2 separate regions of the Homo sapiens genome follow, and region 2 is linked to region 1. Evidence: promoter capture Hi-C in human tissues and cell types (Jung and others, 2019). All regions are on one chromosome and are shown on one strand. The core of a region is centred on a gene start or on the middle of the fragment in contact, and the rest is flanking DNA. Distances in the headings are between cores, read along the strand shown. Region 1 holds the start of MXD3 (MAX dimerization protein 3). Region 2 overlaps NSD1 (nuclear receptor binding SET domain protein 1).

Region 1 (7,101 bases), core at 1,598-4,097:
GAAACGTCAAGACACAGCAGAGGGAGCCTGGGAAGAGCACAGAGCATTCAGCTTCTGTGGGGCACAGGGAGAGATGAGGCCAAAAGAGCAGCCTACTGGCAAGTCCTGGGTTATGAAGGGCCTTGAGTTTCACAGGAAGGAAGGGGAGCAGAGGCTTTGTCCTGTCAGGGGCCACTGGTGGGTTTTCAGCAGGAGATGGGCCTGGGTAGATAGGTGTGCTGCAGAGATCATTCTAGAGCAAAGTAGAAGACAGCCTGGTGGAGGCAAAACAGGTAACAGGAAGGCTGGGAGGAGGCCGGTGAATTAATCCAGGAGAGGGGTGATGGAGCCCCAGAGAAGGAGCACTGCCCAGGTCCTGCCCACAGGCCAGCCAGCCCCTGAGGGGCACACATCATCCATCCGAGAACCAGGCCAGGCAAGCTCCGTGTGAGAAACTGGGCCACTACCCAACCAGAGTGTTACTCAGCCACAATGATGGTAATAACAGACGCCGGGCGGCAGTGCAGCTGTTCCCGCAGCTGTGGTTTATTTACTAACAGCGCATAGGTCTTTGTGTGCCACAGCCCCCAGTGCCTAGAATAGGGCCTAGCAGAACCAGTGCTCAGTAAACACTTGTCAGAGGAGATAACGCAAGCCAGGGAACTGGGCATGGGTCCTGAATCTGCCGCCCATCAGCTGTGCAACTTGTTGGCCCTCAGCCTAGCTGTGCCTTCATGTATTCCTCTAGAGGGCAGGAAAAGTCCTGTGGTTTCCAAGGCCACTTCTGACATGGCCAGGGCCACCTGGGCCTTTATTCAGCACATCCACTCCTGTCCACCAGGGGGCACTGAGCTCAGCCCCAGCAGCAGCAGGAGCCCTGGGAGGACCAGTGACTGGCGTCTTCTCAGTCCTTTCCCCTCCTGTCCCTGGAGCTGCCTCCCAGGTGGCACCAGGATAGACTGCCCATAACAGGAGGCCTTGAAGGTGAGAGGGGGAGAGCAAGGACCAACCCTCTACAGTCCCAAGGACCCCCACATACATCCCATCACAGAATTCAACAGCCATCCCCTCCCCTCAAACAGGAGGGAAGGTTAGTCCAGACAGGCTAAGTAACCTGCCCAAGGTCTCACAGCTGTGATCTAAGTGATAACAGCTGTAACAGCAACAGTGAACATTTATAGAGTGAACTCATTTAAGCCTCAACAACCCTCTGAGTTATTGTCTGCTTTTCTTCCCATTTAATGGATCTGGAAAGTAAAAGCTCAGAGAGCTGTCCTAAGTCACACAGTTCTTGAGCTCTGACCTCAGGTCTCGTTCCCCAGTCCCACCAGCCCCTCCATAGCACAGCCCTCCATACACCAGGGCAAGCCAGTCCGGGCGCAGTGGGGGGCCTCACCTGGATGTGCATCCTGGCACGGCGCAGCAGGCTCAGCGTGGTGTACCGGGCACAGTCGGCCCCCAGGGGCATCTGCTGCTTCAGCCGCTCCAGGCACCGCTTCAACTGGGCCCTCCTGTGGGGAAGAGGTCTGGAGGGCAGTGCCAGCCCCACCTTGCCGGCCACAGGAATGGCAGGGGAGGGAAGGCCAGAGGGCAGTGGCCCCTGGGGGCTGGCGCTGTCAGGGCAGGACTGGGACTCACCTGCGCTTCTCCAGTTCATTGTGCACTGACCTGCCAATGCCAGAGAGGATGAGGTGAAGGGGAATCAGCTACTGCCCATGCCCCAATCCCAGGGCCCCCAGTGGCTCAAGAGCCACTACAGATGTCTGCCCCAAACAAGTCCCCTGTGGAGAGCTCATGCTGGCCTCAGACACCAGAGTCCCCTGGCAGGGCGAGGGGAGTCAAAGACACACGGAGCCAAATGCTTAACAGAAGCCTGCCCAGGTGGGTATGAGGGCCCTAACAAGGGCGCCTGCCAGCTGGCCAGAAAGGACCTCCCAGAGGTGACAGCTAACTGCGGAAACAGATGTTTCCCAAGCCGGTACTGGAGGGAGGGGCATTCAAATAGGAGGGAACAGCATATGCAAAGGGCTGGGGAGAGGAGAGAAGAGGAGGAAGCCAGCGGGGGAGGTGAGTGGCCTGATGTGTGGGGTGCGGGAGTGCGAGTGGAAGCGGGACCCCAACTGCTGTTGGCAGTTCCCGGCACATCTAGAGGTGCTCAAGAAATAGTCCTTGAATGAATAGAAAGGTGTGAGTGTGTTTGGAGAGTGGGGAGATGGCAGGAGGGGTCTGAACGCTTCCTGGAGCGGGACACCTGGCCCAAAAGATGCAAGCAACAAGTGGGCAGAGGAGGGCCCGACCAGGGGCGGCGCCCACCCCCACCCCCACTCCCGCCGCCCCCGGCCTCCTCACCGCCCGCTGTCCTGCGCGCCAGGAGCCTGGGGGGGTCGCTTCTTCCTCCTGTGGATGGGGCCTGGACTGCGATGCGGGCACAGGGACGCATAACCATGCTCGGCCTCTGCCAGAGAGAGTCCCCGCCCGCGTCAGGCTGGGGCTGGACCTGGTCCCAGCGGCAGCCCCAGGCACAGCACGGTCAAGGAAAGGCTTTTGGCGCCAGGACCATTTCCCCCACCCGTCCCTGCTCTACCGCCCCGGGACTCCTCTCGAGTTGAGGGCGAGGCGCCCCGGGATTACTGTCCTAGGGCGGTGCATCCTTCAAGCTGGGAGCCAGGTCCAGTCCAGGCCCGTGTCAGCGAGGTCGCCGCCCGGAATTCAGCCAAGGGTCCTTCCTCACCTCTCTCACGGCGCTCCAGGAACTCGGCCGCCTGCAGCAGGACCTGGATGTTGCTGGCCAAGGGTTCCATGTCGGCGACAGCTGGCGGCGGGCCGGCCTAGGGTGCCGGCCGGAGCAAGCGGCTGCAGCACTTTTGTTACAAAGTAACTGACACGGTGCAACAAACACAGGGGCCCGCCCCGCCCCCGGGACGCCCCGCCCGCGGGAACGCCCAGCCCTTGGCTCCGCCCCTCTGGAACCCGCCACGGAGCCGCAGCCCACCCTCCGGCAGCCGCCCCGCCCCGAGTGGTCTCAGACTTTCCAGGGGCAGGTAAGGGCGCTGGCTCCAGGCCTGGCCCTGGAGCGAACCCTCAGGCTAACCGGTGCTGCTTCTTGCCCGCCTCACTCATCCACCCACGCCGGCTCATTGGCGTCTTTGATCTCAGCTTCCAGCCCCGTGCTAGTGACTAGCCCCCAACATAGCACGGCGCTCTGGGGGCCTGGTGGTCCCCTGAAAGCGCCGGGCCCAGCCGCTGCACGTGGGTGCCGCGGGGGCGGGGCCTCCGGCCGCCGCTCGCCCATTCGCACATGGCTTCTCAAGGATCGCTGTTGTCATCCTCGGGGCGGGGTCGGGGAGCCTCTGATGCCCTATTGGCTGGCGCTCTGCCCCGCCCTCTCCCGCCGCTGATCCACACGTTCGGGCGGGAAAAGAAGCAGGTTTCAAATTTGAAAACCCAAGCGATGGGGCGGGGTTGAGAGGGGAGCTGGGCCTCAATGCGCAGGCGCCGGCGGAGGGGCGGCGGACCCGGCTCCTGCCCTCCGGGGTCTGTCCCCAAGCCTGCCTGCCATCTGCCCCCGAAGGCCCCCGTGGGCCCCAGCTTCCTACTGTGTCGAATGGGAATAATATCTCGGCCCCCCTCCTCTTCTGTGAGGAAGCTGTTGTTGCTACGAAAACGTCAGTGGGGTAACAGCTTCCTCAGGCAGGCCATACCCTGGAGGCACGCGAAATGGCCTTTTCCGGGGCCTTGGGCTCTGGTATCCACGCAGTTGGGGTCCTCTCCTGTCACTGATGTCTCAGCTGTGTATGACTCAGGAGGTGACCTCCGTCTCTAAGCCTCAGGAGCCCTGCGACAGCGTTGAAGGATCAGAGCCAATGCCTCTGCGGTGCCCATGGCATGAAGGAGCCGCCCATCTCAAAGGCCAGTGCAACCAGACCGCGGCGTTTGCCTCCCAGGCAGCCCCTGCTTGCCTTACTCAGAGTCCATAAACCCTTCTTGCACCTGACTCTCCTAGCCGGCCGAAGGAGTGGCTGTGATGACTTCTAGCCTCAGCACCAGCAGGTGGGGCCACATCTGGGGACAGGAAGATGAACGCAGCTGTAGCAGGGTGGAGCATTGCTGCCAGCCACGGGCTGAGTCTGTGACTCCAGTAATCCCAAAATAGAGAGGGGAGGGAAGGTGGGAGGGATAGATGCTCTGTAAAGAGACAGTCCTGGTAAACACAAGCACATGTCAGTCAGGCCTCAGTTCCTTGGGAAAAATCTTTTTTTTTTTTTTGAGTCTTGCTCTGTTGCCCAGGCTGAAGCGCAATGGCTCAGTCTCGACTCACTGCAACCTCCGCCTCCCGGGTTCAAGCAATTCTCCTGCCTCAGCCTCCCAAGTAGCTGAGACTACAAGCGCCCACCACCACACCCAGCTAATTTTTGTATTTTTAGTAGAGACGGGGTTTCACCGTGTTGGCCAGGCTGGTCTCGAACTCCTGACCTCAGGTGATCCACCCACCTCAGCCTCCCAAAGTGCTGGGATTACAGGTGTGAGCCACCGTTCCTGGCCGGGAAACATCTTGAAGTTTCGGCCAGGCGCCGAAAAAAAATGAAGTTTCTCTAAGAGTTGCTCACAGCGGAATAACTGCCCTGTCTAGGCAGACGATCCATCTACCCAGCCGCCTGTCCTTAACTCACAAAGTATTTGCTGAGCTCTCACTGGACACCAGGCGCTGTGCTGGGGGCTGGAGGACATACGATAGGCAAAATCATACAGGGTCCCTGCCCTTGCAGAGCTCATAGGCTTGAGAGGGAAAGACACCAATACAGTCGCAGGAAGGCGGAGGTCCAGCTGGACAGGTCCTCACAGGGAGAGACCATGCCCCACAACACATTCTAAGGAACATTTGACCTAATTGGTGAGGCCAGAGAAGGCTTTACTGGGGAAATGGATGAAGAGGTGTTATCTAAGTATAGGAGAGATGAAAGAATTCTAGACAAAGGAACAGCACATGCAAAGGCCCTGGGGCTGAAAGGAGCATGGCAGGGGCGGTGTGGCTTACAGAGAGCAAATAGCCTGGTGCAGGCTGACACTGGAGAGGCTGCAGGGCCCAGAACATGCTGATGGGTTCCCCCAAACTCCCCCCTGCAATCAGCCATCTCTGAAGGAAGGAGCCGCAAGGGTTGTGAATGAATTTCCAATTTTATTTCACTAAAGTCAGCACCATGCAGTGCAGACACGAACCTACTCAGATGTCTGGGCCCTAGGTGGCCTGGCCTCCAGTCTGGGTGGGATAGGGGTGGGGAGGTTCTGAAGGAGGAGAATTTTCAGCAAAGGGAAAGAAGGAAGCATATGTGAGCTGAAGACATGGCCAGGAGGTGGTGGGAGTCGGGGTGGGGCTGCAGAGGGGCTGGAGGGCTCATGTCAAGGAGTTTGGACTTCATCCTAGGAGCTGCAGAGCGGTTTTGAGCCAGGGACAGCATGTGGGCTGGGGTCAAGGCCACCGGCCAGGCCAGACAGGAACAATACCTCCCCAGGAACAGGATGGGACGGGGCATGGGGGGATCCAGCCTGGACCAGCAGGGATCCTGCCCCAAGCCCTTGGATGTCCCCTGGGCCCCTGTGAGAAAATGCTAGAGCTAGTGGCCTCTAGGCACAGGACTGGACAGAGGAGCTGCAGTGCCCCCCCAGCAGTGACCAGCCCAGATCCTCTGCCCTGGAGTCCGCAGGGTCCTGCGCTTCGCCCTGTGACCTCCTGCCTCCACCAGCCCACTGTAACTGGGGTTCTGCTGCCTGTACTTGCAGTGCAGACTCTACCCGGGTCTATGGTCCTCTGGGCTCCAAGGACAGAGTCTGCATCTGTGCCCTGAGTGGAAGGGGAGAAGGGAGACCCCCCCGCCCCAGGCCTTTGTCCCAGTTAGGACCCCTTGAAGAGGGGAGCCAATCCTGGGCTCACCGTCCTCCTCCACTCCATGGACACTCCATGGTGCAGGAGGAGATGGCCCTGCGTTCCCCAGATCCCTTTCCCCTTCTCCCCTGCAAGGAAGAGTCATCGGGGGAGTCGGGAGCCTGGCTCCGACCCTGGAACCCTGCCCAGCCTCCTCCCTGGGCTGCCCGCAGCCTCCCCTCTCCCAGAGAGCAGCACTCCCCAGTCACAGAGCTAACCAGGTCACGCCCCCACTGAAGGCCTCATGCCCCCGCTGAAGGCCCACGCTCCCATGGCCTTCAGGACAAAGTTTGAGCTGGGCAGGGGACATGCCATGGCCTTGCCCACCTCCCTGCCTCTGCCATCTCTGCTCAATGTCACTTGCTCCAGGAGGTTCCCAGGCCTCCCTCCTTCAGCGCATTCTCCCAAGTAGCAGTGGGCCCTGCATCTCTCAGGGTCAGCCTCTTCCTGCAGACTACGACCTCAGCGACAGAGCAAACCAATGCCGAACAGGGGCTTGGCCAAGCCATAGGCAAGGGGTAGGGAAGGGCTGGTGGGCCTGTGTCTCCATGCCCATAGGATGTCAGAAGAAGCAGTCAGCAGACCCCCACACAGAGGCCACCTCTGGAACGCACCCCCCCCCCCCGCCAACCCCAGCTGTTGTGGCAGTGCAGCATAATGATCAGGAGTTGGGTGCCAGCCGGTCCCTCGCTTGGTGTCACAGGGGCTAAGCCAAGAGGCCAGCCCTGGCTAGACAGGTCTCAGAAGTGCCTGGCAGCCCCTGCTATCCGGGGAGGAACACTGCAAACAGGCCTCTGTAGGCTCAGTAGTATGGCCATTTTTTTTTTTTTTTTTTTTGAGGTGGGGTCTTCTGCTGTCACCCAGCTGGAGTGCAGTGACACAATGAGGGCTCATTGCAGCCTTGACCTGCTGGGCTCAAGCAATTCTCCCGCCTCAGCCTCCCAAGTAGCTGGGACCACAGCTGCATGCCACCATGCCTAATTTTTTTATTTTTTGTAGAGATGGGGTTTCACCATGTTGGCCAAGCTGGTCTTGAACTCCTGACCTCAGGTGATTTGCCCCCCTCAGTCTCCCAAAGTGTTGGGATTACTGGCTTGAGCCACCGCACCCGGCCTGATTTGCATTTTTTCTAAGTCAGCTGAAAGTCTTATTTTTCCACTGGATATAATGTATTGTTATCCTCTATCTGCTTTTAATATTTT
Region 2 (7,521 bases), core at 2,060-4,559, 100 kb before region 1:
CTCCTCAGCCTCTGAAAGTGCTGGGATTACAGGCGTGAGCCACACACCCGGCCAAGTATTCTTTAATTTAGAAATGTAATGTTACCAGTTTTAGTCTATATTCTGCTTTGTGCTTATAAATGCAGGGAGGGTGGAGTGTTTGTGAGATCAGTCCTTACTCTAATGACATAATCTTATTAGCAGAAGTATTTTTGAGGAAGCTCCATTAGGGTGATTCAGATGCTGCTTGAGCTCAGGTGCTAACTACCTGGCTGGTTCCATAAAAGCAGGAGGCCTGACAGGTTTGTAAAAGCTTCTGATTTCAGGCCGGGTGCGGTGGCTCATAGCTGTAATCCCAGCACTTTGGGAGGCTGAGGTGAGCGGATCACTTCAGGTCAGGAGTTTGAGACCAGCCTGGCCAATATGGTGAAACCCCTATTCTACTGAAAATACAAAAAATTAGCTGGGTGTGGTGGCGGGTGCCTGTAATCCCAGCTACTCGGGAGGCTGAGGAAGGAGAATCACTTGAACCCGGGAGGCAGAGGTTGTGGTGAGCGAAGATTGTGCCACTGCACTCCAGCCTGGGCGACAGAGCAAGACTCTGTCTCAAAAAAAAAAAAAAAAGGAATAAAAAAAAAAGCTTCTGATTTCATCTCCCTTTTCCCCCACCCATTTCTTTGATAAGTGATAATTCTTTTTCTCCTTTAAATTTAAGGTTCCTCAGAAAATTTTGAGTAAATGGGAAGCCAGTGTTGGACTTGCAGAACAGTATGATGTTCCCAAGGGGTCAAAGAACCGAAAATGTATTCCTGGTTCAATCAAGTTGGACAGTGAAGAAGATATGCCATTTGAAGACTGCACAAATGATCCTGAGTCAGAACATGACCTGTTGCTTAATGGCTGTTTGAAATCACTGGCTTTTGATTCTGAACATTCTGCAGATGAGAAGGAAAAGCCTTGCGCTAAATCTCGAGCCAGAAAGAGCTCTGATAATCCAAAAAGGACTAGTGTGAAAAAGGGCCACATACAATTTGAAGCACATAAAGATGAACGGAGGGGAAAGATTCCAGAGAACCTTGGCCTAAACTTTATCTCTGGGGATATATCTGATACGCAGGCCTCTAATGAACTTTCCAGGATAGCAAATAGCCTCACAGGGTCCAACACTGCCCCAGGAAGTTTTCTGTTTTCTTCCTGTGGAAAAAACACTGCAAAGAAAGAATTTGAGACTTCAAATGGTGACTCTTTATTGGGCTTGCCTGAGGGTGCTTTGATCTCAAAGTGTTCTCGAGAGAAGAATAAACCCCAACGAAGCCTGGTGTGTGGTTCAAAAGTGAAGCTCTGCTATATTGGAGCAGGTGATGAGGAAAAGCGAAGTGATTCCATTAGTATCTGTACCACTTCTGATGATGGAAGCAGTGACCTGGATCCCATAGAACACAGCTCAGAGTCTGATAACAGTGTCCTTGAAATTCCAGATGCTTTCGATAGAACAGAGAACATGTTATCTATGCAGAAAAATGAAAAGATAAAGTATTCTAGGTTTGCTGCCACAAACACTAGGGTAAAAGCAAAACAGAAGCCTCTCATTAGTAACTCACATACAGACCACTTAATGGGTTGTACTAAGAGTGCAGAGCCTGGAACCGAGACGTCTCAGGTTAATCTCTCTGATCTGAAGGCATCTACTCTTGTTCACAAACCCCAGTCAGATTTTACAAATGATGCTCTCTCTCCAAAATTCAACCTGTCATCAAGCATATCCAGTGAGAACTCGTTAATAAAGGGTGGGGCAGCAAATCAAGCTCTATTACATTCGAAAAGCAAACAGCCCAAGTTCCGAAGTATAAAGTGCAAACACAAAGAAAATCCAGTTATGGCAGAACCCCCAGTTATAAATGAGGAGTGCAGTTTGAAATGCTGCTCTTCTGATACCAAAGGCTCTCCTTTGGCCAGCATTTCTAAAAGTGGGAAAGTGGATGGTCTAAAACTACTGAACAATATGCATGAGAAAACCAGGGATTCAAGTGACATAGAAACAGCAGTGGTGAAACATGTTTTATCCGAGTTGAAGGAACTCTCTTACAGATCCTTAGGTGAGGATGTCAGTGACTCTGGAACATCAAAGCCATCAAAACCATTACTTTTCTCTTCTGCTTCTAGTCAGAATCACATACCTATTGAACCAGACTACAAATTCAGTACATTGCTAATGATGTTGAAAGATATGCATGATAGTAAGACGAAGGAGCAGCGGTTGATGACTGCTCAAAACCTGGTCTCTTACCGGAGTCCTGGTCGTGGGGACTGTTCTACTAATAGTCCTGTAGGAGTCTCTAAGGTTTTGGTTTCAGGAGGCTCCACACACAATTCAGAGAAAAAGGGAGATGGCACTCAGAACTCCGCCAATCCTAGCCCTAGTGGGGGTGACTCTGCATTATCTGGCGAGTTGTCTGCTTCCCTACCTGGCTTACTGTCCGACAAGAGAGACCTCCCTGCTTCTGGTAAAAGTCGTTCAGACTGTGTTACTAGGCGCAACTGTGGACGATCAAAGCCTTCATCCAAATTGCGAGATGCTTTTTCAGCCCAAATGGTAAAGAACACAGTGAACCGTAAAGCCTTAAAGACCGAGCGCAAAAGAAAACTGAATCAGCTTCCAAGTGTGACTCTTGATGCTGTACTGCAGGGAGACCGAGAACGTGGAGGTTCATTGAGAGGTGGGGCAGAAGATCCTAGTAAAGAGGATCCCCTTCAGATAATGGGCCACTTAACAAGTGAAGATGGTGACCATTTTTCTGATGTGCATTTCGATAGCAAGGTTAAGCAATCTGATCCTGGTAAAATTTCTGAAAAAGGACTCTCTTTTGAAAACGGAAAAGGCCCAGAGCTGGACTCTGTAATGAACAGTGAGAATGATGAACTCAATGGTGTAAATCAAGTGGTGCCTAAAAAGCGGTGGCAGCGTTTAAACCAAAGGCGCACTAAACCTCGTAAGCGCATGAACAGATTTAAAGAGAAAGAAAACTCTGAGTGTGCCTTTAGGGTCTTACTTCCTAGTGACCCTGTGCAGGAGGGGCGGGATGAGTTTCCAGAGCATAGAACTCCTTCAGCAAGCATACTTGAGGAACCACTGACAGAGCAAAATCATGCTGACTGCTTAGATTCAGCTGGGCCACGGTTAAATGTTTGTGATAAATCCAGTGCCAGCATTGGTGACATGGAAAAGGAGCCAGGAATTCCCAGTTTGACACCACAGGCTGAGCTCCCTGAACCAGGTAAGGACATCTAAATGTGATAAAAAAAAAAAAATTGGAGAAAGTGCTGATAAACATTGTCCTTCTGAAATTGGTCTGTTGTAATGGTAAAGTGAAGTATAAACTAGCGGGGAAGAATCATCACTTCAATGAAGAAGGAGTTTTATGTAGAAAGGTCTGAATTTTGAAGATGAGATTTCCATATATATTCAAAAGTTAAACTTTACCAGAAGCCCTTTTCCCCAACCTTTTCAAGTAAATCTCTATAACATCTTTCTTTCTCACTTTCTCTCTCTCTCTTTCTCTCTCTCTCTTTTTTTTTTTTTTCTAATTTTTTTTTTCTTTTGAGACAGGGTCTCACTGTGTTGCCCAGGCTGGTCTCAAACTCCTGAGTTCACGCCATCTGCCAGCCTTTGCCTCCTAAAGTGCTGGGATTACTCTTGCCTGACCTGTTCCCCGTTTCTTACCTTTTAAAATCCCCAAGCTTTTTGGGACTCAATATGTAACTGCAAGTAATTGAGAGGCTCCGATCCTAGGATTTAAATCCAGTTGTTAGGTTATAGAAAGCAAATAGATTCTATTGGATGGTAGTTTCTTTTTTTTTTCTTAAGGCACCCGCCACCATACCTGGTAATTTTTGTATTTTTAGTAGAGATGAGGGTTCACCACGTTGGCCAGGCTGGTCTTGAACTGAACTCAAGTGATCCGCCCACCAAAAGTGCTGGGATACAGGCGTGAGCCACTGCATCTGGCTGGATGTTAGGTTTTCTTTGACCATTACTTAAGATAGGTCCTTCTGTTTTGTGGACAATTTGATGAACCACATGCGCTTTTGAAAAAACTGCAAGTATTCTGTAGTACTTATTTGAAGGTCTTAGGTGTCTTAAATTCCTACTGGAATGAGGATTATGAACAAATAAAAATACCAGAAGTACCCAAGTGTTGTACCTAGCAGCAGATGGAAAACAGAAATCTTTCAAGATACTAACATTACACAGTATACAGTTGAGGATAAAGCAGTGTGTGTATACATGTATATACATATTTTTTTCTTTTTTACAGCAATATCCATTAACATAAGATTCTCAAAACTGTGTATCATAGTAGATTTTTCTCTAACAGCTTTATTGAAAATGCAGTTATCATATCATAAAATTCAGCTTTTAACGTTTTTAATTGAGTGGTTTGTAGTATAGTCACAGAGTTGTGCAACAATCAGTGCGATCAATTGTGGAATATTTGCATCATCCCAGACAGAAACACAGAACTCTTGTCAATCTGCCTTCAGGTTTTTTTTTCTTTTTTTTTCTTGAGACGGAGTCTCGCTCTGTTACCCAGGCTGGAGTGCCGTGGCGTGATCTCGGCTCACTGCAGGCTCCGCCTCCCGGGTTCACGCCATTCTCCTGCCTCAGCCTCCTGAGTAGCTGGGACTACAGGCGCCCGCCACCACACCCAGCTAATTTTTTTTTGTATTTTTAGTAGAGACGGGGTTTCACTGTGTTAGCCAGGATGGTCTCTGATCTCCTGACCTTGTGATCCGCCCGCCTCCACCTCCCAAAGTGCTGGGATTACAGGCGTGAGCCACTGTGCCCAGCCCTGCCTTCAGTTTTTACCAATCTGTAGATTTGTCTATTGTGTACATTTCATAGAAATGGAATCATACAATATATGGTCCTTTTGGGTCTGGTTTCCCTTACTTAGTTTAATGTTTTCTGGTTCATGCCTCTTGTAGTATGTATCAGTTCTTCTGTCTTCTTCTAAAATTATGGTTAAAAAGCATGTAACCTAAATGTACCTTTTTTGGTTTTTTTTTTGAGATAGGGTCTGGCTCTGTTGCCCAGGCTAGAGTGAGATTTACTCTTTAACGGTATTTACGGCCAGGTGCGGTGGCTCACGCCTGTAATTCCAGCACTCTGGGAGGCCAAGGCTGATGGATCACCTGAGGTCAGGAGTTCAAGACCAGCCTGGCCAACATGGCAAAACCCCATCTCTACTAAAAATACAAAAATTAGCTGGGCATGGTGGCGCGCTCCTGTAATACCAGCCACTCGGGAGGCTGAGGTAGGAGAATCACTTGAACCCGGGAGGTGGAGGTTGCAGTGAGTGGAGGTTGCAGTGAGCTGAGATTGCGCCACTGCACTCCAGCCTGGGAGACAGAGCGAAACCCCATTTCAAAATAAACAAACAAAAAAACAGTATTTAAGTGTGTATTATAGTGTCATGAATCATGTACATGTACAACAGCAGATCTCCAGGACATTTTCGTTTTGCTTGACTGAGACTCTATACCCATTGAACAACAACTCCTGATTTTCTCCTTTGTTCAATCCATGACAACTAACATTCTTTCTGCTTCTGTGAATTTGATTACTTTAGACATCTCATGTAAGTGGAATCATGCAGTATTTGTTGTTTTGTGATTGGGTTATTTCACATTTCACTTAGCATAATGTTTTCAAGGTTCATCCATGTTGTAGCATATGACAGGATCACCTTTTTTTTTTTTTTTTTGAGACAGAGTCTTACTGTGTCACCCAGGCTGGAGTGCAGTGGCGTGATCTCAGCTCACTGCATCCTCTGCCTCGTGGGTTCTCGGCTCACTGCAGCCTCTGCCTCGTGGGTTCAAGCAATTCTCCTGCCTCAGCCTCCTAAGTAGCTTGGACTACAGGCACATGCCACCATGCCTGGCTAATTTGTTTTGTATTTTTAGTAGAGACAGGGTGTCACCATGTTCCCCAGAATGGTCTCGATCTCCTGACCTCGTGATCCACCCGCCTTGGCCTCCCAAAGTGCTGGGATTAAAAGCATGAGCCACCACGCCCTGCCGATAACCTTTTTTTATGGCTGAATAATATTCCAACATACTTTTTCTTTTCCATACTAAAGCATCTTTTCTTTATCAGTTCATTGGTTGATGGACATTTAGATTGCTTCCACATCTTGACTATTGTGAGTAATGCTACAGTGAACATGGATATGCAGATATCTCTGAGATCTGGTTTTCAATTTTTTTTTTTTTTTTGAGATGGAGTTTCGCTCTTGTTGCCCAGGCCGGAGTGCAATGGCACAATCTCAGTTCACTGTAACCTCTGCCTCCTGGGCTCAAGCAATTCTGCCTCAGCCTTTCAAGTAGCTGGGATTACAGGCATATACCACCACGCCTAGCTAACTTTGTATTTTTAGTAGAGATGGGGTTTCACCATGTTGGCCAGGCTGGTGTCGAACTCCTGACCTCAGGTGGTCTGCCTGCTTCGGCCTCCCAAAGTGCTGGGATTACAGGCATGAGCAACTGCACCCAGTGATGTTCATTTCTTTTGGATAAATACCTAGAATGGCATTGGTGGAACATAGGGTAATTCTACTTTTATTTTTATTTTTTTTTGAGACAAGGGTCTCCCTCTGTCACCCAGGCTGGAGTATAATGATGCGATCTCAAGTCACTGCAACCTCTGCCTCCTGGGCTCAAGCAATTCTTGTGCCCCAGCCTCCCAAGTAGCTGGGATTACAGTGGTTTTGCCATGTTAGCCAGGCTGGTCTCAAATTCCTGACCTTAAGTGATCCTCCTGCTTCGGCCTCCCAAAGTGTTGGGATTATAGGTGTGAGCCACCGCACCCGGCCTACTTTTAATTTGATGAACCTCTATAGTGTTTTGCATAATTGCTGCATCATTTTATAAGTCCTTTGTCCATATACATATGTTTTTAATGATACTGGGCCTCTTTGTCACCTAGGGTGGAATACAGTGGTGCAGTTATAGCTCACTGCAGCCTCAAACTCCTGGGCTCAAGTGATCCTCCTATCTCAGCATCCTGAGTAGCTGGGAGTACAGGTGCATGCCACCACACTTGGCTAATTTTTGTGTTTTTTTGTAGAGACAGGTTTCTGGCTATGCTGCCCAGGCTGGTCTTCAACTACTGGGCTCAAATGATGTTCCCACTTTGGCCTCCCAAAATGCTGGGATTCCAGACATGAGCTACTGTGCATATCCCTTTGCATATTTTTAAATCTTGTTATTTTTAAAAAATGAGGTATAAGAGTTATTCATATATCCTGGATATTAACCAATTATCTGATGTATGATTTGCAAGTATTTTCTCCCATTTTGTACCTGCCTTTTCACTCTGTTGACTGTTTTCTTTGCTGTGTAGAAGTTAATGTGATTTTTTTTTTCCATTTTTGCTTTTTAAAAAATTTTTACTTGTGCTTTGGGTCTCATAGCCAGGAAATTCTTGTTCCTTCCAATATCATGAAGTTTTTTCGTCTGTTTTCTTCTAGGAGTTTCATAGTT

The links. The method cuts DNA at HindIII sites, captures the fragments that hold promoters and counts their contacts. A contact is called where the count stands out against the background at its distance.
Region 2: a contact is called between a fragment that was not itself captured here and the fragment with the promoter of MXD3 in region 1, in 2 of the 25 tissues and cell types used here (bladder and pancreas).

The regions. Positions count from the first base shown.
Region 1 is chr5:177,309,051-177,316,151 of GRCh38, forward strand. MXD3 (MAX dimerization protein 3) reads right to left here and starts at 2,848. Exons shown (of 6, transcript NM_031300.4): 1 at 2,711-2,848; 2 at 2,329-2,434; 3 at 1,618-1,647; 4 at 1,376-1,490. The coding sequence starts at 2,780. RefSeq lists enhancers at 513-582, 653-702, 949-1,815, 2,073-2,272, 3,923-3,982 and silencers at 2,823-3,002, 3,133-3,702. The HindIII fragment of the contact is 13,092 bases long and covers 1-7,101 here.
Region 2 is chr5:177,208,942-177,216,462 of GRCh38, forward strand. NSD1 (nuclear receptor binding SET domain protein 1) reads left to right here. Exons shown (of 23, transcript NM_022455.5): 5 at 695-3,254. Among named protein-coding and RNA genes, the nearest start is that of NSD1, 79 kb to the left of the region's middle. The HindIII fragment of the contact is 5,708 bases long and covers 456-6,163 here.